4 separate regions of the Homo sapiens genome follow, and regions 1, 2 and 3 are each linked to region 4. The links are contacts of gene promoters, found by promoter capture Hi-C in human tissues and cell types (Jung and others, 2019). All regions are on one chromosome and are shown on one strand. Each heading gives the region's core, a stretch centred on a gene start or on the middle of the fragment in contact. The rest is flanking DNA. Distances are from core to core; before and after follow the strand shown.

Region 1 (4,769 bases), core at 1,406-3,905, 600 kb before region 4:
TGCTAGTTATTCTCTAGATGTTTGGGCAAGCACAGGCTGGCAAACTGCTCTGTAAAAGGGGCTGAAACACAGCTCTACCAAACAAGAGGCTTTAGCTTTGAAAGAATGAGGTGAAATACAGGGCACGACTGATCTCTAAGAAACTCCTAAAATGTATAGAAAAAGACTGAAAGAAACGCACAAAAGTATAAACTGAACTGCAATTCAGAAAGGTTAAGTGACTTATCCCAAATCACACAGCTGAACAGCTGCAGAAGAGGGACTGGTTTCCCAATTCTGAACTCTACACTTATTGTTTTGCCTGTATGTGTGTTCAGTACCTCCTCCCCCAAACCCAAATAAAAACTATGCTTCAGCACTGCAAACGGAGTTTCTCTGGGCTAGGGCAGGTCTGAGTCATCTTTAATCCCCTCCCCCACCGCAGGAGGTAGCTCTGCAGCTGAGGGAGCCTAGGCACTAAATTAAAACCTACCTGGTTTCCACCACTCCTAATCCCTTCTCCTTCGCATATACATCTCCACTCCTACCCACTTAAGAAACCCAAGCTCGGTTTGCATCTCCAGCCCCCGCGGCTCACAGGCCGTGTAACTTCACTGCTAACAGCAAGTAAGTAAGTCCCTTACCCATCCTCCCACCCTGCCTGGCCTCCGTTTTCTCATTGGTAGCCGGCGGAGATTGGGCTTCCCTAGATGGTATCTTTGGTTTCTTTCACCTCTGAAACTCTGCACTTGGCTTCTTTGAGTAGTTCTGTTCATCTTTTCCTGGCCATCTCAAAAGTTCGCCTCCACCCTGGGAAGGCTTCTTGACCCTCGCAGTCCAGACCAGGCCCTCCTGTTAACACTCCCATAATATCCTTTACTACTTCTTCAGAGCAATGGTCATAATTGCAATTTATGAAAGAATGTGCTTAACATTAGTCTTCCCCAGGAGACTGTAAACTGTATAAGGAAAAACACCACGTCTTCACTGCTCTGTGAGGCTCCACACCAAACACCACATAGGAGGTAAATAAATGAATAAATCAATGACTTGGACCCTATTCAGAAGGGCTGGGCTGAGTAGGAGGAAATCTGCCACCTGAATATAAAAAATGTAGGGGAATGAGGGTCACATAGTTCCCAGAAACTCGCATTCATCTATGTTTTAAGGACGGCTTCAGGAAAGAAAGTAACTAAAATGGTAAAAAGCGCATGAGGCCGGGTGCGGTGGCTCATACCTGTAATCCCAGCACTTTGGGAGGCCGAGGCAGGCAGATCACCTGAGGTCGGGAGTTCGAGACCAGCCTGACCAGCATGGAGAAACCCCGTCTCTACTAAAAATACAAAATTAGCCAGCGTGGTGGCACATGCCTGTAATCCCAGCTACTAGGGAGGCTGAGCTTAGCAGGAGAATCGCTTGAACCCGGGAGGCGGAGGTTGTGGTGAGCCGAGATCGCGCCATTGCACTCCAGACTGGGCAGCAAGAGTGAAACTCCATCTCAAAAAAAAAAAAAAAAAAAGTGCATGAGAATGCCCTGTGACTATCGACTCCACCTATCTCTATAAGCCAGAAAAGGGAGGATTCCCTAGTGTGCTTCTCCCATAAACTAGGCTGCCATGCCAGCCAGCAGACAACTGATGGATTCTAGAAACCCGGCTTTCCTTGAAAAGGAACCTACGAATGCTTGTAAAATCCCACAACACTTGTTGTCATCCTGGCTTCTGGGTCTTTATACAGTCTCCCGCCTTTGCTCTTTCCACTCAGATATGACGACAGGAAAGGAGCTGTTTCATGGCAGGCAAAGGCCAATGCCTGGACAATCTGGTAGCCTGAATAGCTGTGGCTTAACAAGCTTCCACTGTCTTTGCCTAGCACTGAGTGAAATAGCCAGGCCCTGCACTGACAATTGAGATGCAGGAAAAAGCAGGAAACTACTAGAATGGAAATTCTGATTATTTAGTCTATTTTTATCCTTCCAATACCTTCCAGATGAGTTACTGAAAGCCTACTTGCTTGTAGCTGGCTCGATTTGTAAAAATGTGTGGAGACTGAACATCCACCTTGTTTTAATTTGTGATGGACATGCTTTCTTTATGAAACTGAACTTTGCTAAGTCTCCATTCCCCAGTGTAGAATATTATTGTATACAAATATTTATATGTGTTGCCTTGTAAGTGTTAAATAGCAAACTGCATGAAAAGTTTGGAAACAGAACAAACATATTTTAAATAAAATATTGGTTCTAATTTCAAATAATATGCTGAAAACATATATATATATATTTTGAGACAGAGTCTTGCTCTGTCACCCAGGCTGGAGTGCAGTGGCATGGTATCGGCTCACAGGAACCTCCACCTCCTGGGTTCAAGCGATTCTCCTGTCTCAGCCTCCTGAGTAGCTGGGATTACAGACACATGCCACCATGCCCAGATAATTTTTGTATTTTTAATAGAGACAGGGTTTCACCATGTTGGCCAGGCTGGTCTCGAACTCCTGACCTCGTGATCTGCCCACGTCAGCCTCCCAAAGTGCTGAGATTACAGGCATGAGGCACTGCGCCCGGCCACTGAATATTTTTTCCTTAACCTCCACATCATCTTTTCTATGCAATACCTCTAAATTTAATACAATTAGTCTAATCGTTTATCTAAAACAAACAAGTGCAATAAATACATTATTTCTCCCTTGTGTTTCCAGACATAATAGATTCTGTGATAGATTTATTATACTTTTTTCATATTAACAATTAGACAATATTTTAAAATTATATTATTGTAAGGTAAGGACACAAAGAAATAAATTTTTTTTTTTTTTTTTGAGATGGAGTCTCGCTTTGTCGCCCAGGCTAGAGTGCAGTGGTGCTATCTCGGCTTACTGCAAGCTCCGCCTCCCGGGTTCACGCCATTCTCCTGCCTCAGCCTCCCGAATAGCTGGGACTATAGGTGCCTGCCACCACGCTCGGCTAATTTTTTTGTATTTGTAGTAGAGACGGGGTTTCACTAAATCACCTCGTGATCACCTCGTGATCTGCCGGCCTCAGCCATAAAAATTATTTTCTAAAACTAAAAACAAGAACATTCAAATGACTGTTATCTTTCAAAGCTGGCACCTTTGGAGGTTACATACCATTCCTCAAAATATTTTTATCAGAAAACATGATTGGCCAGGCATGGTGGCTTATACCTGTAATCCCAGCACTTTGGGACGCCGAGGTGGGTGGATCACTTGAGGCCAGGAGTTCGAGACCAGCTTGGCCAACATGGCAAAATCCCGTTTCTACTAAAAATAACAAAAATTAGCTGGGCATGGTGGCACACGCCTGTAGTCCCAACTACTCAGCAGGCTGAGGCTCAAGAATCACTTGAAGCCAGAAGGTGGAGGCTGCAGGTTGCAGTGAGCTGCAGTGAGCAAGGTCGTGCCACTACCCTCCAGCTGGGGCAATAGAGCAAAACTCTGTCTCTAAAAAAAAAAAGAAAAAGAAAAAGAAGAAAACAAGATTGAAAAATAACTGAACTGAGTATTTAACTCAAAAATCTAGAAAAAGGCTGGGCGTGGTGGCTCACGCCTGTAATCACAGCACTCTGGGAGACTGAGCCAGGCAGATCACCTGAGGTCAGGAGTTCAAGACCAGCCTGGCCAACATGGTGAAAACCCAACTCAAAATACAAAATTTAGCTGGGCATGGTGGTACCTGCTGGTAATCCCAGCTACTTGGGAGGCTAAGGCAGGACAATTACTTGAACCTGGGAGATGGTGGTTGCAGTGAGCTAAGATCATGCCACTGCACCCCAGCCTGGACAACAGAATGAGATTCTGTCTCAAAAAAAAAAAAAAAAAAAAAAAAAAAATATATATATATATATATATGTTCAAAAATCTAGAAAAAGAGTTAATAAACCCCAAAAATGAATAAATATAAAAGCAAGGCTGGCCATGGTGTTGACTCATGCCTGTAATCCCAGCACTTTGGGAGGCCAAAGTTAGAGGTTTACTTGAGCCCAAGAGTTTGAGACTGGGCAACAAACATAGTGAGATCTCGCCTCTACAAAAAAATAAAAAAAGTCAGCCAGGCTTGGTGGGGTATGCCTGTGGTCCTAGCTACTCCGGAGGCTGAGCTGAGATCACGCCACTGTACTCCAGCCTTGGTGACAGATTATATATATATCTGTTTTGTTGTTTTTGGCACAGATATAAAGTAACAGCCAAAAAAAAAAAAAAAGAGTAAACTGAATTAATAAAAACAAAAACTAGGCCAGGCGTGATGGCTCACACCTGTAATTCCAGTACTTTGGGAGGCCGAGGGTGGATCACGAGGTCAAGTGATCAAGACCATCCTGGTCAACATGGTGAAACCCCGTCTCTACTACAAATACAAAAATTAGCCGGGCGTGGTGGCACGCACCTGTAGTCCCAGCTACTCGGGAACCTGAGGCAGGAGAATTGCTTGAATCCGCGAGGTGGAGGTTGCAGTGAGCGGAGATCACCAGTAGAGCGAGACTCCATCTCAAAAAAAAACCAAAAAACAAAACCAAAAACTATATTTTGTTTTAAAACACTAAATAAATGTAGATAATTCTGTCAAAAATCTGATCAATTGAAAGAGAGAAGTCACAAACATTAGGGCTGAGAAAGAGGATATCATAACTGCAGATTTAGAGAAAATCTTTTAACTCATGCTAGAATTATATGTAACTTTACATAAATAAACTTGAAGATTAAATAAGATGGATGATAGTCAAAGAAAACAGAAGTTACCAAAATCAACTCAAGAAAAATTAGGGGAACAACAA
Region 2 (5,024 bases), core at 1,849-4,348, 550 kb before region 4:
TTGTTTTCAGAGCTCCCAGGAAGAGCTACAGACAATTCTGAATGGACAGAGAGGGAAGTAAAAGTAATACTAAGGGTCTCATGTAACTATGTTAAGAAGCAGCCAAGGAAAATCAGCACATGGAGCCAGATATAGACAAAAATATAGATAAATATTTATATATAGGATTTATATATAGGATTAATATATATTTATTTTTATTTTATTTATTATATATATTTACATACAAGATTTGATGATGATAACACTCCTTAGGCTCTAGATTGAAAAAACAAAGCAAACAAATTACCATTTAAAAATTTATAATATGTAGCCATAAAAAAGAATTAAATCATCCAGGCATGGTGGCTCATGCCTGTAATCCCAGTACTTTGGAAGACCTAGGTGGGTGGAGTGCTTGAGATCAGAAGTGTGAGACCAGCCTGGACAACAAAGTGAGACCCCGTCTCTACAAAAAATACAAAAATTAGCCAGGTTTGGTGGTGTGCACCTGTAGTCCCAGCTACTCAGGAGGCTGAGGTGGGAGGATGGTTTGAGCCTGGGTGGCAGAGGCTGCAATGAGTCAAGATCGTATGACTGCACTCCAGCCTGGGCAATAGAGCCAGGCCCAGTCTAAAAAAAAAAAAAAAAAAAAAAAAAAAAATTAAATAACGTCCTTTGTAGCAACAGGGATACAGCTGAAGGCCATTATCCTAAATGAATTAACACAGAAACAGAAAACCAAATGCTGCATGTTCTCACTTATAAGTGGGAGCTAAACACTGGGTACATGTGGACATAAAGATGGAAACGGTGGACACTGGGGACTCCAAAAGGGAGAGGGAGGGAAGGGAACAAGGGTTCAAAGACAAGCTCTTGGGTACTATGCTCACTACCTGAGTGATGGAATCACTTGTACCCCAAGCCTCAGCATCACACAACATACTCATGCAACAAACCTGCACGTGTACCTCTAAATCTAAAATAAAATAAAATAAAATTTGTAATAGAAAAACACCTAAAAATTATCAGTGACTGCCTCTGTGCAGCAGGAACAGGGGACCAGCTTTGACTCCTGACTTTATATACTTCTGATTTTTTATAAGCCTATAGTAACTTTCGTAACAAACTTTAAAAGACATAGTATTAGTGTTCTAAAAATAAATTATAAAGTTCTCTGTAGTTCAGTAAAATTGTTTTAAATTAGCATATAGGATTAAAAAGTATACTGAAAAGAAAAAATATTTCTCAATCTTATGTTAGGTTCTAATTTAACTCAATCGAATTTTTACAGTCATGTAAAATGAAATACCCATTCTACTCATCCACAGCCTCTACTGTTCAATTTCTACCCAAACTGTACCTTTCAGTAATTTACTGACCTTGGAACTGCTTTCTTCCGATACTTCTCCCTCATTGGTTTGCATGGGAACAGATTTTGTGCAAAACTCTGCAGAAACACAAAAATACTGCCTAAAAGAAGAGAGAAGAAAAAAGTATGTAAGGAATTCAGGGCAAAAAAATTTTTTTTTCAAAGGTTTAGACTGAAATTCTCTCAATAAGGCCACAGATACTGTGAAGTAACTTTGAGTAACTTTGTGTGTGTGTGTGTGTCTATGCACATGCATCTTAAAGGTAAGAAAGGGAGGGAGAGAAGCAGGGAGGGAATGTTTCCCATCTTGGGGGAGAAGGGTAGATAGGAAAGGTTTCCAGCATTGGGATATTAATAGCTCTAGATTTCTTTCCCTATTTTATTTGGCTTTTGGCAGAGGTGGTGGTGAAATTCTTACAGCAGACACTGACCTGCAAGAAAGTATGGCAGTGAGCAAAGCGGCGCACCTGTTGTTCCGCCCCTGCAGGTCACAGTGCCTGGGTATTAGGCTAAGGCTATTGGAATTGGCAGGGTTTCCCGGGCTTATAATTTATGAATAACGTTCCTGCTTTCTTTATAACTGAAATTAAAGTACACTATAATGGCTGGCCCCACTTTTCATTTTTAGGAAATGTGCTTAATAAACTAAATGTCAGTTCATTTATTTTTATATGAGACTATTTATAGGGCAAGACAGTAAAAAGTAATTAAGTTTTCCTCAAAGAATAAAATGAGTCAAGAAAAAGTTTGTTAAAATTTTATGAATTAAAATGTACCAAAAGGAAACTACTAAAAATTTATGCAACATTTTCAAGAATTCATTACATATGTAATTATTGAGGAATATTTTTTTTTTTTTTGAGACACAGTCTTGCTGTGTCGCCCAGGCTGCAGTGCAGTGGTGAGAGTTTGGCTCACTGCAACCTCCACCTCCTGGGTTCAAGCGATGCTCCTGCCTCAGTCTCCCAAGTAGCTGGGACTACAGGCGCCTGCCACCACACCCGGCCGATTTTTGTATTTTTAGTAGAGACAGGGTTTCACTATGTTGGATAGACTGGTCTTGAACTCCTGACCTCGTGATCCGACCGCCTCAGACTCCCAAAGTGCTGGGATTACAGGCGTGAGCCACCGCTCCTGGCCCTATTGAGGAATAATTATTCAAATGACACAAATCTCCATTATAATACAGGTATGAATATTTACAAACCTATCAGCTACTCTAAAGCTCATAGCTACAAAACATAAAAACTAAAAAAGGCCAGGTGCAGTGGCTCATGCCTATAATCCCAGCAATTTGGGAGGCTGAGGCAGGTGGATGGCTTGAGCTAACGCGTTCAAGACCAGCCTGGGGGCGAAACCCCACCTCTACCCAAAATACAAAAATTAGCCAGGCGTGGTGACACATGTATGTGGGCCCAGCTACTTGAGAGGCTGAGGTGGGAGGACTGGTTGAGTCCAGGAGGTCAAGGCTGCAGTGAGCTGTGATCACACCACTGCACTCCAGCCTTGGCAACAGAGTGAGACCCTGTCTCAAAAAAAAAAAAAAAAAAAGGTAAAAAGATGCTGGTAGTGTATGTTTTTTGTGTGTGCAAGAAAAATCTATTAATGCACAACGCTTGATGATCTGTTTTGGTGTAGGCTTCTCTATAACCAGCCAAGACTCAAGGCTAAGAAGGCACTTCCAGGAAGCTGTTGCCTCATCTACTGGGTGGGAAGGGGTTACCAAAATATCTACTTTGCTCACCCACCTAGCAAGGTCTTGTTGGGAACAAATGCATATTTATGTGATGTGAAGTGTAAAATCAGTACAGTAGAAGCTCTCAATTGATATCCATTCACTTGCTCCCAGCTTAATCAACATTGCCCATCCTCTCTGTAAAACACATGAGGGATGCTCACAGCAAGTGAAAATAGGCTTTCTCTAGTTGATTTTGTCCCTCACCTATTTATCACAGTTGTGCAAAAAAAAAAAAAAAAAGTTCTCTTTCTATAAAAATTAGGTTGATAGCATTGGAAAAACTCAATAACTTATCCAGAAAGATTTTATGTGTAATTTGCTTCACAGATGTCTTTAAGTTCTCCTACTTCACTGAAACAGAGACTGCATTTCTCTGTTTCATTATAGGCATAGCTGAACCAGATGATGCATTATAGGCATAGCTGAACCAGAAAAACTCCTTGGAACTCCATTCATGCTTGCAGGCCTGTGCTCAGCACACTCCTTGGTCTGGTGCTGTACTGTCTGCTTCCTCCAGACCCACGCTCCATTCTCCGCCTAACTGTGTGCCCCAGGGGACACCATCATTGGGCTCCTTATCTTCTGGCTGCTGGCTGGGCTAAGCCAGTGGGAGGCACTGACTGGAGACAGGAGGTCGGGAGAGGAAGAAGGGATGGCAGTGGTTGTTTCTTCTATGAAAGGGCACTGCTCTCAACTTGCTGGCTTCTCCTTCAGCTTTAATCTTTTTACTTTCATCCTTTCTGGATTCTCCTATTTGGCTGTTCTATTTTTCTTAAGTCTCTTTCTAGCTTGACTTGCCTGGCTAAATTAGTTTTTTCCTTCTCTGACAATCACTGCTATTTCCCGTTACCGACTCCTCCTCCCTATCCCCCAACACTGCACACTGTCATCTCTCCTCCCCCATGCTATCACCCTCTACCCAAGGCTTTAACCAAGACTTCTGCCCCTCCACTCACTTCTTAAAATCCATCGTGTCCCAATAAGATCCTACCAAGGCCCAAGTCTTACCTTCTCTACTACTACAGCCCTCAGTTTTCCAACATGTTAGAATGGAAATAGGGAAACCAACAAAGGCTACTGAACCACCCAGTGGCTGACAACAATTGGGAACCTTACTATTGCTAGACCTGAAGCGGAAGGGGCAGTGACTGGAACCTGGAGGGGGAGCTGTGGCCGTCACTGAAGAGTCCAACAGACCCGAATGCTTACGGATGTGTGACCTTGAGGGAATTTACTCAATTTGTCTCAGTCTCAGCTTCCCTACCAAAACTTGGGAATAGTAGTTATTCTGAGGATTCACTGACAATGTATTTGCACTTGATACATAATAGGTACTTAATAAGTACATGGAGATGACCAACTCACAAGACATTCTCTACTCTGAATTCTTATTCTTTCAGGGTCCGATCCCCAGTGATCTCCATTTCCCTTTGGACATGCTGTGAAAGGGGAATGCTTCTTCCTGGCTCCTGAGTTTCCACCTTTGGCTCCTCTCCACCTGCACACAATCCACTCCAGAGAAGGTAACAGGATCTTACTTTAATGGTGAGTTTGGAAGGAGAAACAACGTAGGTGGAGCTCAGCCCTGTCTTTTCCTTCCTTCTGGAAACCAGCTGCCCCAGGAAGCCTGCATTCTCCTCTTCTCCTCCACCCATAAACACAGGACCCTCACAACTACCCGTGAGTAGGTCAGTCTGTGTTATTATGAAGTTCAGTGTTAAGTTCACTGGCCTGTAGATGTGTCACATTCTCCAATACAGCTTTTTTTTTTAAGCCCGGCCCCTCTGCCCAGTGGCACACATAATAGCAGTGGCAGCGGGAATGGGCGGTCCAATACCGCTTTATTAGTCAGAGAAACAGTATTTTGGTCTCCCAAATGCCCTCCTTTTAAAAAGGAGGGAAAAATGAAAAGTGTAACAATTTCTCGCTGCATAT
Region 3 (5,329 bases), core at 744-3,243, 690 kb before region 4:
CTGGTGACAACCATCAATTCATTATCTTTGCCAATGCCTAATGGTATTCAAGCTCTGAATTTTAATATCACCCCAAAAGACATTTTAAGTTGAAATCTGTTAATAAACTTTAAAAGATATTTAGAATTTCTTAGCTGTTAGTTGACTTAGTATTCATCTATTAAAAACTCTCACAACTTTTTTTTTTTTTTTTTTAAGACGGAGTCTGGCTCTGTCACCCAGGCTGGAGTGCAATGGCGCGACCTCGGCTCACTGCAAGCTCCGCCTCCTGGGTTGACGCCATTCTCCTGCCTCAGCCTCCCGAGTAGCTGGGACTACAGGAGCCCGCCACCATGCCTGGCTAATTTTTTTATATTTTTAGTAGAGACAGGGTTTCACCATGTTAGCCAGGGTGGTCTCGATCTCCTGACCTGGTGATCCACCCGCCTCGGCCTCCCAAAGTGCTGGGATTACAGGCGTGAGCCACCGTGCCCGGCCAAAAACTCTCAAAACTTCTAGTAGAACCTTTCAGCTAAATATCCCTTATTTCTACATACAGTTTTTAACAAAGCTCAAAATCCAGGGCCCACAAAAAGAAATACTGAGTTTAAAAATCTAATTTAAAAACTATAGTATTATTTTAGAATCCTCCGAAGATTCTATATTGCAATGTAGCAAATCATTTTCTCTATCCTCCTAGCATTCTGGAAACATAACACAGGCATCTAAAGATTCGCCTTCGCACAAGCCCCATGTCCAATTATGCCCTGAACACATATGACGGTGGAACTATGGAGGCTCAAATTTGTAACACTCTAGTCTGAGAAGGAAAAAAGGCCCCCAAAATAATAAGCAACAGCAGTTAAGTTAGCCCTTATGCCAAGAGCACACACTTACGGAACACTAAACCTCAGTTCCAAGAATCACCAATACACATCGCATACTAGGATCCTCTCTCATCTTTTGACTAATCCCAGTGGTTTATATAATGAATGGCTTTCCTGGACTTTACATCAAGCAATGCAAACAAAGTGCTCTCTCTCTGTCAAGCTGCCATGCATTCGATTCACAGGGTGCCTTACCTGGCGCAGTCCCACTCTCACTCTGCAGCAGCGCTCCTGTCACTTGTGCGTTGTTTGGGTTTGCTCCAGGTGCTGTGCAGGGAGGAGGCCCTGCCCCACCCCCAAGGAGCATGCAGGACGGTGGAGGGGGCTGCCCACGTTTTAGTAACACTTTGTGGTCCTGCTGGCAACGGAATCGCGGCGGCACCTCCCGAGGCATGTAGCGGGCGGCGCTTGGCGGTTGTCCGTTCGGCACTGCCACCCTTTTGGCATTGTTGCCACCATTGACTGGTGGCGATGGAGAGCTGCCAATTGGGCTGGCGGCCGTTGGTTGGCTTAAACTTGGTTTCGTCACTTCGGGCACTAAAAGAGAGGGGTTGGGAAACAGTCTTTGAAATACATCAAATACATTTTTTCTAAAAATTTTAAAAATAATTTTATTATTTTATTTAGAGATGGGGTCTTGCCATGTTGCCCATGCTGGTCTTGAACTCGGGCTCAAGGGACTCTCCCACCTTGGCTTTCCAAAGTGCTAGAATTACAAGAGTGAGCCACTGTGCCTGGCCAAGATTATTATTTATTTATTTATTTATTTATTTTTGAGACGGAGTCTCACACTGTCACCCAGTGTGAGTGTCGCCCAGGCTGGAGTGCAGTGGTGCAATCTCCGCTCACTGCAACCTCCGCCTCCCAGGTTCAAGCAATTCTCCTGCCTCAGCCTCCCAAGTAGCTCGGATTACAGGCGCCCACCACCAAAACCAGCTAATTTTTTGTATTTTTAGTACAGACAGGTTTTCACTATGTTGACCAGGCTGGTCTTGAACTCCTGACCTCATGATCCGCCTGCCTTGGCCTCCCAAAGTGTTGAGATTACAGGCATGAGCCACTGCACCCAGCCTATTTTTTATTTTTTTGAGATGAGGTCTTGCTGTATAACTCGGGCTGGAGTGCAGTGATCTTGGCTTGCTGCAACTTCTACCTCCAGGGCTCAAGTGATCCTCCCACCTCAGCCTCTTGAGTAGCTGGGACTACAATGCATACACCACTATGCCCAACTAATTTTTTTTTCCTCCTCTAGAGACAGGGTTTTGCCATGTTGCCTACCTAGACTGGTCTCGAACTCCTGAACTCAAGCTATTTACCCACCTCGGCCTCCCAAAGTGCTGGGATTACAGGTGTGAGCCACCACACCCAGACCCTGGCTAAGATTATTTGTAAGAAAGCTTACATGGTACCAATTCTAACAAAGTAACTTCTCCTTTTACTCTACTCTCAAGGGAAACAGTTTTTCCAAATTCTCCACAATCTCTCCAGTTTGCTGAAGGTAGGATGAAGGTGGCGGCTGACAGTGACAAGAATTTAAACACAGCAAGGTCATGGAATACATTCCATTAATTAAGGCGGAGAGGGAAGCAATCAACATTCACTCCCCTAAATCAACAGTGGAATTAATTCCCTGAAGTGCTGCCTAGAAGAGTTAAATGTCCATGGCAAAGTCCTTGGGAAAGGTTTCAAGCCTCAGTCCAAGGGTCCCTTCCCTTCATCCACATTCTTAAAAGATCTACCCCTGAGTAAACTTTATTGAAGCCCCTGGCCTAGATGGGCTAAACATTCTTCCTAAGTGCTCCTGGAACACATCATCCATCTCTCTCTACCATGAAAATTCTCCATTCAAAAATCCATCTATCTCTACCACCGAAATTCTCCATCTACAAGTCCCATCTCTCTCTATCACAGAAATTCTCCATTTACAAGTCCTTCTCCCTCACCAGGCCATGACTTCCTGAGGGCAAGGACCCATCTTTCATCTTTTCTTTCTTCCTTAGGGCATGGCACAGAGTGGACTCTTACAAGAAACTCCAGGCCTAGAAAATCACAAACTCAGCTTGGTTCTGGTTTCTACAGCTACCTGGACTCAAAGACTTGCACCGCTCTCTGTGTAAATACTAGAAATGTTACAAATCTTTTTGCTTTTCTTTAAAAAAAAAAAAAAGTGTTTCTTCCCAATTCTTTAAAATAGAAATTTCAAAATGTAAATACTTTTTCTGTTTACTTTAAATCATTTGATTTTTTTAAACTTAATTTTAAAAATGGCCCGCACACAGCGTGGGAATGTCGGGGCAACCGTGAAACCGCACTCTGCCGGACCCTCTGGCTCTTCCCGTCGAACATACAGAGAAGGCTCTCTTAGATCTGTACCTCCCTCGCTGCATGCTGCCAGAAGATCACTACCCTCTCCATAAAAATCTACCTGGCAAATAGAGGCTGGAAGTCGTACAGAAATAATCATCAAGCCTGACAGTTCGGATGATTCTGAGGCCCAAATCCCTGCCTCCCAGGGTAACGTCAGGGCCAACTCTGGGGGTAGTACTGCTTTGACTGCTAAAATGATGCGGGGCCAGCATGTTGCTTGCTGAACTGGCTCCTTTATGAGAGAGATACATCATCAGAAATCAGGCGGCCCAATCTATGCCACTACTGGACATTAACATACTGTGGGTGACAGGAGAAAAGAGCAGGTGCCTGCAGCAATTTCCAGGTAACCCCATGTCTAACCTCAGCTAATCACAAGGCAGCACCAGGCCTCCCAGTAAGGGGAGGGGGAGTGGAGGTCAGAGGATCCAAAATCTGATGAGCAGAATAAATGTGTGACTTAAGAAAATAAAATTAGTCGGCCAGGCGCGATGGCTCACGCCTGTAATCCCAGCACTTTGGGAGGCCGAGGTGGGTAGATCACAGGGTCAGGAGATCGAGACCATCCTGGCCGACATTGTGAAACCTAGTCTCTACTAAAAATACAAAAATTAGCTGGGCGTGGTGGCATGCGCCTGTATTCCCAGCTACTCAGGAGGCTGAGGACGAGAATTGCTTGAACCTGGGAAGCGGGGGTTGCAGTGAGCCGAGATCGTGCCACTGCCCTCCAGCCTGGGCCACAGAGCAAGACTCTGTCTCAAAAAAAAAAGAAAAGAAAATTAGTCATTATCTAATATTCATGACCTATAACAACAGATGGATACATAACTGGTAAATGAATGAATGAAGATTATTTAATATTAATTTTCTATCTGTTACTGGAGGATTCTATAGCACAGGGCATTCGCAATCCCCTTTTATCTTATTATGAGAATAAACAAGAAGTTGGCAGAGACTGGAGAAATTCATCCCAACTGGTTTTTAGGACAGAAAGAGCTATGTTTCTGTAAGGCTGCCCTGCTATAAAGGTCAAGAATCTTCATTATAAGTTACCCAGGTCTACTACATACTTTTAACTCAATCCAGAAAAACAACAAGACATGACAGAGTGACCTGCAGGACTGAGGGCTGAACACCAGTTTGACTCACTTTAAAACATTCACAGCACTGTTTCAACTGAAGAAATTTGGTAGGTATCACGTATCATGTAAGATTCCTTGCAAAAGTTCCTCAGGGCACTTTCCCACCACATCAGAGACAGAATGGATTGTAAATGATAAAGTCATTATAAAATGGGAACACACCTCAACCACTTTCCTCCCAATACAGTGTGCTCTGGCCCAGGAGATTAGTCATTCAAACTCCAGGACATCATGTACAAATAGGTCAAAGTATAAAAAGAAAAAAACAAAACCTCCAGGAAACAGTCAGAAAACGCCCAAGACACCACCTTAGTCATAGCAAACTGTGTTTCAGCACCTGAATGAATTCTTACTCTATTTTTTAAATCACACCTTTCTGTGAATCCAAGAATGTTAAGCTTTTAAAGGCCAACCAGAATTGCCGGCACTAATTGGAGAGCAACACAGCTTTTCAGGCAGGATGTCTGATCCAAATTGACTCCCAAAGTCCAAACTTAAGACATCAGAATCAGTGTGCATCACCCATCATCATGGTCCAGAATGTTAGACGATAAAGGGCAAGAGAAGCTATCATTAAAAGTCTGAATATGTTACTTTTCAGGCTGTCTCTTTTCTGAATCTTAAGGATTTGTAAGTTGTGCAAGTTTTTCTAAAGATGAGCTGTTCAAAGTAAGTGCATAGTTTCTTATCTTCCAGAGGAAAGGTTTGTGGCTTAAACATGATCTCAGTACTATAGGGAAATAAAAACATTGTGGGGTAAAAAAAAAAAAAAAAAAAAAAAAAAAAAAGGCTGTGTATCCTATTTTCTGATTTCCATTCATTTACTTCTTTTTTTGTTTGTTTTTTGAGACTGAGTCTTGCTCTGTTGCCCAGGCTAGAGTGGAGTAGCAGGATCTCAGCTTCCTGCAACCTCCACCTTCCAGGTTCAAGTGATTCTCCTGCCTCAGCCTCCCG
Region 4 (4,796 bases), core at 155-2,654:
ATCCTGCCCTTGGAGCACAGTCCCATCCCTCATGCAGCCTCCAAGGCCCTGCAGGGCTCCCGCCACACCTGCAGCCTCACCTCACTCCTCTCTGCCCCTCAGGGCTCCAACACTGCCTGCAACTCCTCCCTTCTCCAGGCTTCGCTCCTGCCATGCCCTCCTCCTGCCTCCCACTACCCTCTCTACCCAACCAACGCTCTTCCTTATTGAGGAGTCAGCTCTGGCATTGCCCATGTACACCCAGCAAACACTGCCAGAGCACCCACGATGTGCCAAGCACTGTGCCAGGTGCTAGGGTCCCCATCCCAGTCATCTGACAGTACCCCAGGGGAGGCAAATGTTAGATTCAGAATTCCACAGTTAGATGTGACAGTTAGATATGAAGCAGAGGAGGAATCCCAGAGGGCTTCCCTGAGGAGGTGATGCTTAAGCTGGGATTTTAAGGATGTAGCAAAGGATTTGGCCAGGTCCAGGGGGAAGGGAAAAGCTTTTCAGACAGGGGGAAGAGCCAGTGAGAGGACCCTGAGGCTCAGAAGAGCACAGGGGGGAAGCCAAGTGGTGGGAAGTGAGGCTGGGTGGAACACACAGGCCCTGATGGGTTGGATTAGGACTTTGCTCTGCACCTCCAGGACCATAGCAAATCATGACAGTCTTAAGCAGGGGGAACATGAGCCCACTGGAGGCAGCAAGTGGAGGCAGGAGGCCTGGGAAGAGGCTGCTCGGAGGCACAGTAAGGAGAATGAGTCCTGCCCTGTGTGTTGGGATCGGCTGCCCCGCTGCCCACGCCCACAGTTCCTGATCACGGCTCCCATCCTCTGTATGGTCACGGCCCATCAGGTGGCTCCAGAGTCTGACTGATCTGCATTCCCAGCCCAGCACAGGTCTGGGGCCCACACTCAAGGACTTTCTGAGCCAGCCAGCCACTGGACTGACCCCACAGCCACCAGCAACTTCCAGAACCTTCACATCAGCAGAACACCAGGTCCTCATCCATTTGAGGTCTCCCCAGACCCACCCTCTGAGCTCGCTCACCACCACCAAGGCCCAGTGGCCTCACCGCAGACCTCAGGTCTCCCAGCCGGAGCAAGGTGTGAGCAGCAGGACTCAATCCAGCCCCCCACCCTTCAGCCCCTGCAGGGCCCCGATCAGCCGAGGCTGCGGAGGATATGGGTTGCACACCATCTTGATGCACCAGTTCCGGGGGCTGGTGGTCTGTCGCAGGCAGAAGAAGGCAATAGGCGCCAGGTCTGGGTGTGGGACATGAGGATCAGCTCCATCCAGAGGCTCCTCCAGGCCTGGCGGGGAGGATGGGGGGCTCCGGGGTCCGGGCTGCTCCGTGGTGACTCCTGGCTCAGCGGCTGGGGCTGCTGCAGATGAGGAGGGCGGGGAGGCGCTCTCAGCCATGTCCACACTGAGCTGGGAGCCCTGGGGAAGACAGAGAGGGTGGCACGTGGTGGGGACAGGCCTGGTACATGCTCCCCAACCTGCCTCTCCACCAATAAGTGGACGGATGCAGCTCTGACAGCCCCACCTGAGCCCCACAGGCCCCTCACCCTCACTCTTGCATGAGGATTACGAAACAGCTGAGGGCCCAGCTGCACCCAACTTGGAATCTGCTTCCAAGCTGGGTGATCATGGGGCAAGTCTGCTCACCCTGGCTGAGCCTCAGTTTTGGCAAACGAAGATAGTGGGGAGAATAAAGCCTTCTTAGAATATAATTGTGATATTAACTCTTTTTTTTTTGTCTATTGGCAATTTTCTGTATTTGAAATCTTTCATTATTTAAGAGAAAAAATGTTTAAGTAATTATAGACAGAAAAGAAAGACGGAAGGGAGGGAGAGAGGGAGAGAGGGAGGGAGGGAGGGAAGAAAGGAAGGAAGGAAGGAAGGAAGGAAGGAAGGAAGGAAGGGATCTTAACTTTTTTACAAGACTAGAGCTATGTATTTATTGCACCATCAAAGGTAAAGAAAACTTGCAAGAAAAAAGAGGTGATTGTAAAGACAGACATTATTGCCAGGACAATGCAGGTTACAAAGGCAATGTTGGGGTGCTGCAGAATCAGAGACTGGGGGAACGCTGGCAAGCCAGGAGGGAATCACAGTTGGCTTCCCTGAGGAAGTAACCCCTGAGCTGAGACCTACAGCTGAGCCCTTGACCCAGGGACCTCCCAGCCACTGCCTTACAAGGCTGAGAACCCAGGAATCTTAGAGTCTAACCTCCTTGCCTTACAGATGAAGAAACCGAGGCCCAGAGAAGGGACAGGACAGACATGTAGCAGAGTAACAGCAGAAATAGAATTCCAGTCAAAGGCCAGGCACGTGACTCACACCTGTAATCCCAGCACTTTGGGAGGCCAAGGTGGGTGGATCACCTGAGGTCAGGAGTTTGAGGCCAACCTGGCCAACATAGTGAGACCTCATCTGTACTAAAAATACAAAAATTAGCTGGGTGTGGTGGCACACGCTGTAATCTCAGCTACTCGGGAAGCTGAGGCATGAGAATCACTTGAACCCGGGAGGTGGAGGTTGCAGTGAGCCAAGATCACACCACTGCATTCCAGCCTGGGCAACAGAGCAAGACTCTGTCACCAAAAAAAAAAAAAAAAAAGAATTCCGGTCAGAGCCCGCTTCCTGGGTCTGTGGCTCAGGCAGCTGCACAGGGCCCCGTGCTCAGAAGGGCCCTGAACTTGCTTTAGAATTCTTCTGTCACCAACATGAAATTCTTAATTGCTTATCAAGAGGTCCCACATTTTCATTTTGTTCTAGGTGATGCAAATCATCTTGCTGGCTCCGACTCCAACTCAAAGCACTTCTACTCCCTGGCCTTGTCTGATGCTCACAACAACCTCAGGAGGACTATTATGCCCATTTGGCAGGTGAAGAAACTGAGGCCAAGAGAACAAAGCGGGTTGTCAAGGCTATGCACCCAGCCAAGTGAAGCACTAGGTGGTGTTGAGAGGCCAGAATCCCAGCACCAGACCCCCAGGCGGGCTTCATGACAACTGATGGTGCCCTCGCTGGCCGAGAGCCTCCGCAACCAGTCAATGGCAAGATGGGACGGACAGCCACTCCCAGGGCCTGCCCCTCACCACCTCACCCCAAAGGGTACTAGTCCCTAAAACTTTGTCCACTGGGGTCCCTGGGATCCTAGAACCCCTACAGGGCCAGTCTGAGCCGTGGGATTGAGAGATGGGGTCCACGTCCCTGGTGCCCACCCAGCTGCTGCTGGGCTGTCGACCAAGCCACCCGGAGCTGATGCATTTGGACATTTCTCTGGCTCCCGGGGGCAACGGGCAGGGGTTGGCACCTCCTGCCACTTCCCCTGGCTGGTCAGGGAGGCGGAGTTTTCTCCTGAGCTCAGGGCTTTGCTCTTGATTCCAGAAAAACAGCCACGGGCCTTACATAAGCTCCCAGGCACCTTGGCCTGCCACGTGTCAACCTCCTGGGCTGAAACGCACCCTCCCTAGGGTGGTTCCAGCTCTGCCCACCACCGTGCCAGCCTCGGAGCCCACCACTCCCTCCCCTGGCCATTTGCTCTGGCCAGATTGGACCTCCTCAGGTCCTAGGCCCTGCTCCCGCTCTTCCCTCTCACTGGGGCACCTTCTCCTTCCGCCCAGGCCCTGTTCTCCCAGGCCCTACTGATTCATTCATTTGCCCAATGAGCACCTACTATGTGTGGGCACTGTGTGGGCTTCGGGCTATGCTGGGGCACGAGCCAGACTCAGCACCAGCCCCCATTCAGCCCACACTTCCGCAGAGGAGAGAGACACACCGATCAATTAATTTCTCTCTTTCTGCTTTTCCACAACTCTTATCACCATCAAACACGGTGCATAATTTATGTCTTTATATCTCCATGATTTGGTGTCTGTCTCCCCAGCCTAAGAGAAGCCTGTAAGGGAGGTGTATCCCCTCACTGCTGTATCCCCAGCACCTGGAATGGTGCCTGGAGCATACTAGGTGCTCAATCGATATTTGTTGACTCAGTGAATAAAAAGTGCTGGGAAGTAAATAAACAAGGGGAAAGGTGGGAGTGGAGACAATCATCTTGCCCTCTCTAAAGGAAGAGATGTTTAAGTGAAAACCAAGACGCGGGAGGCCGCAGCCCTGACTGATCTGCTGGAAGAGCACAGGAGGAAGAGCACGTGCGAAGGCCAGGAGAATGGGGCCCGCTCGGTGCATTTAAGGAACACAAGCGAGGCCGAGCCTCGGGCAGGGAGGCGGATGAAACCAAAGAGTTCAGCAGGGCCCTGGGGGAGAACACAGAGGAGCGTGGGTTTTATCCCAAGTTCAGTAGAAGCCACAGGTGGGTTTTAGGCAGGGGAGTGGTGTGCTCTGGTCTGTTTCTAAGCCATCTCTCCAGGGGCTGAAGGGAGAGTGGATGAAGGGGAAGGGGTGGAGCAGGAAGGGCTGGGAGGAGCTGGGCTGGCCTGCCCTTGGCTGCTGGTGAAGACAGGGAGAAGGCGGTGGATTGAGATTTATTCTCGAGGTAAAGCACCTGGTCTCGCAGCAACTGCAGTGGCCCACCTGCAACCCTCGCCCCAGCATTACCGAAGTCCTTCCTGAAACCACACAGGTGGAAAGAGCTCCCCCGGCCTCCGGGACTGCACAAAACTACCCACTTCCTGCCTCTGGGCTACGTCGCTTGCACTGACTTGCTTGTTGCCTCTCTTGGCTTGTTTAATGCCGCCACACTGTGCTGCCCTCTGTGCTCACACCTCTCCCCTCACTGTGGTGCTCCCAGAAACCACACCCCTAAGGCCACCACCCTCAACTCTCTCCCCAGTGTCCACCCA

Evidence for each region. Contacts are between HindIII fragments. The study calls those that stand out against the background at their distance.
Region 1: a contact is called between a fragment that was not itself captured here and the fragment with the promoter of CACNA1I in region 4, in 2 of the 25 tissues and cell types used here (dorsolateral prefrontal cortex and lymphoblastoid cells).
Region 2: a fragment that was not itself captured here is called in contact with the fragment with the promoter of CACNA1I in region 4 in 1 of the 25 tissues and cell types used here (adrenal gland).
Region 3: a contact is called between a fragment that was not itself captured here and the fragment with the promoter of CACNA1I in region 4, in 2 of the 25 tissues and cell types used here (dorsolateral prefrontal cortex and lymphoblastoid cells).

What each region holds. Positions count from the first base shown.
Region 1 is chr22:40,172,852-40,177,620 of GRCh38, reverse strand. It overlaps a transcript of TNRC6B not described here. Among named protein-coding and RNA genes, the nearest start is that of TNRC6B, 2.7 kb to the left of the region's middle. The HindIII fragment of the contact is 5,621 bases long and covers 1-4,769 here.
Region 2 is chr22:40,122,200-40,127,223 of GRCh38, reverse strand. It overlaps a transcript of TNRC6B not described here. Among named protein-coding and RNA genes, the nearest start is that of TNRC6B, 53 kb to the left of the region's middle. The HindIII fragment of the contact is 5,757 bases long and covers 220-5,024 here.
Region 3 is chr22:40,257,906-40,263,234 of GRCh38, reverse strand. TNRC6B (trinucleotide repeat containing adaptor 6B) reads right to left here. Exons shown (of 23, transcript NM_001162501.2): 4 at 1,062-1,403. It overlaps LOC124905121 (a long non-coding RNA gene), which reads left to right. Exons shown (of 2, transcript XR_007068107.1): 2 at 2,867-4,193. Among named protein-coding and RNA genes, the nearest start is that of TNRC6B, 83 kb to the right of the region's middle. The HindIII fragment of the contact is 8,779 bases long and covers 1-5,329 here.
Region 4 is chr22:39,567,361-39,572,156 of GRCh38, reverse strand. CACNA1I (calcium voltage-gated channel subunit alpha1 I) reads right to left here and starts at 1,404. Exons shown (of 37, transcript NM_021096.4): 1 at 1,169-1,404. The coding sequence starts at 1,404. The HindIII fragment of the contact is 10,754 bases long and covers 1-4,796 here.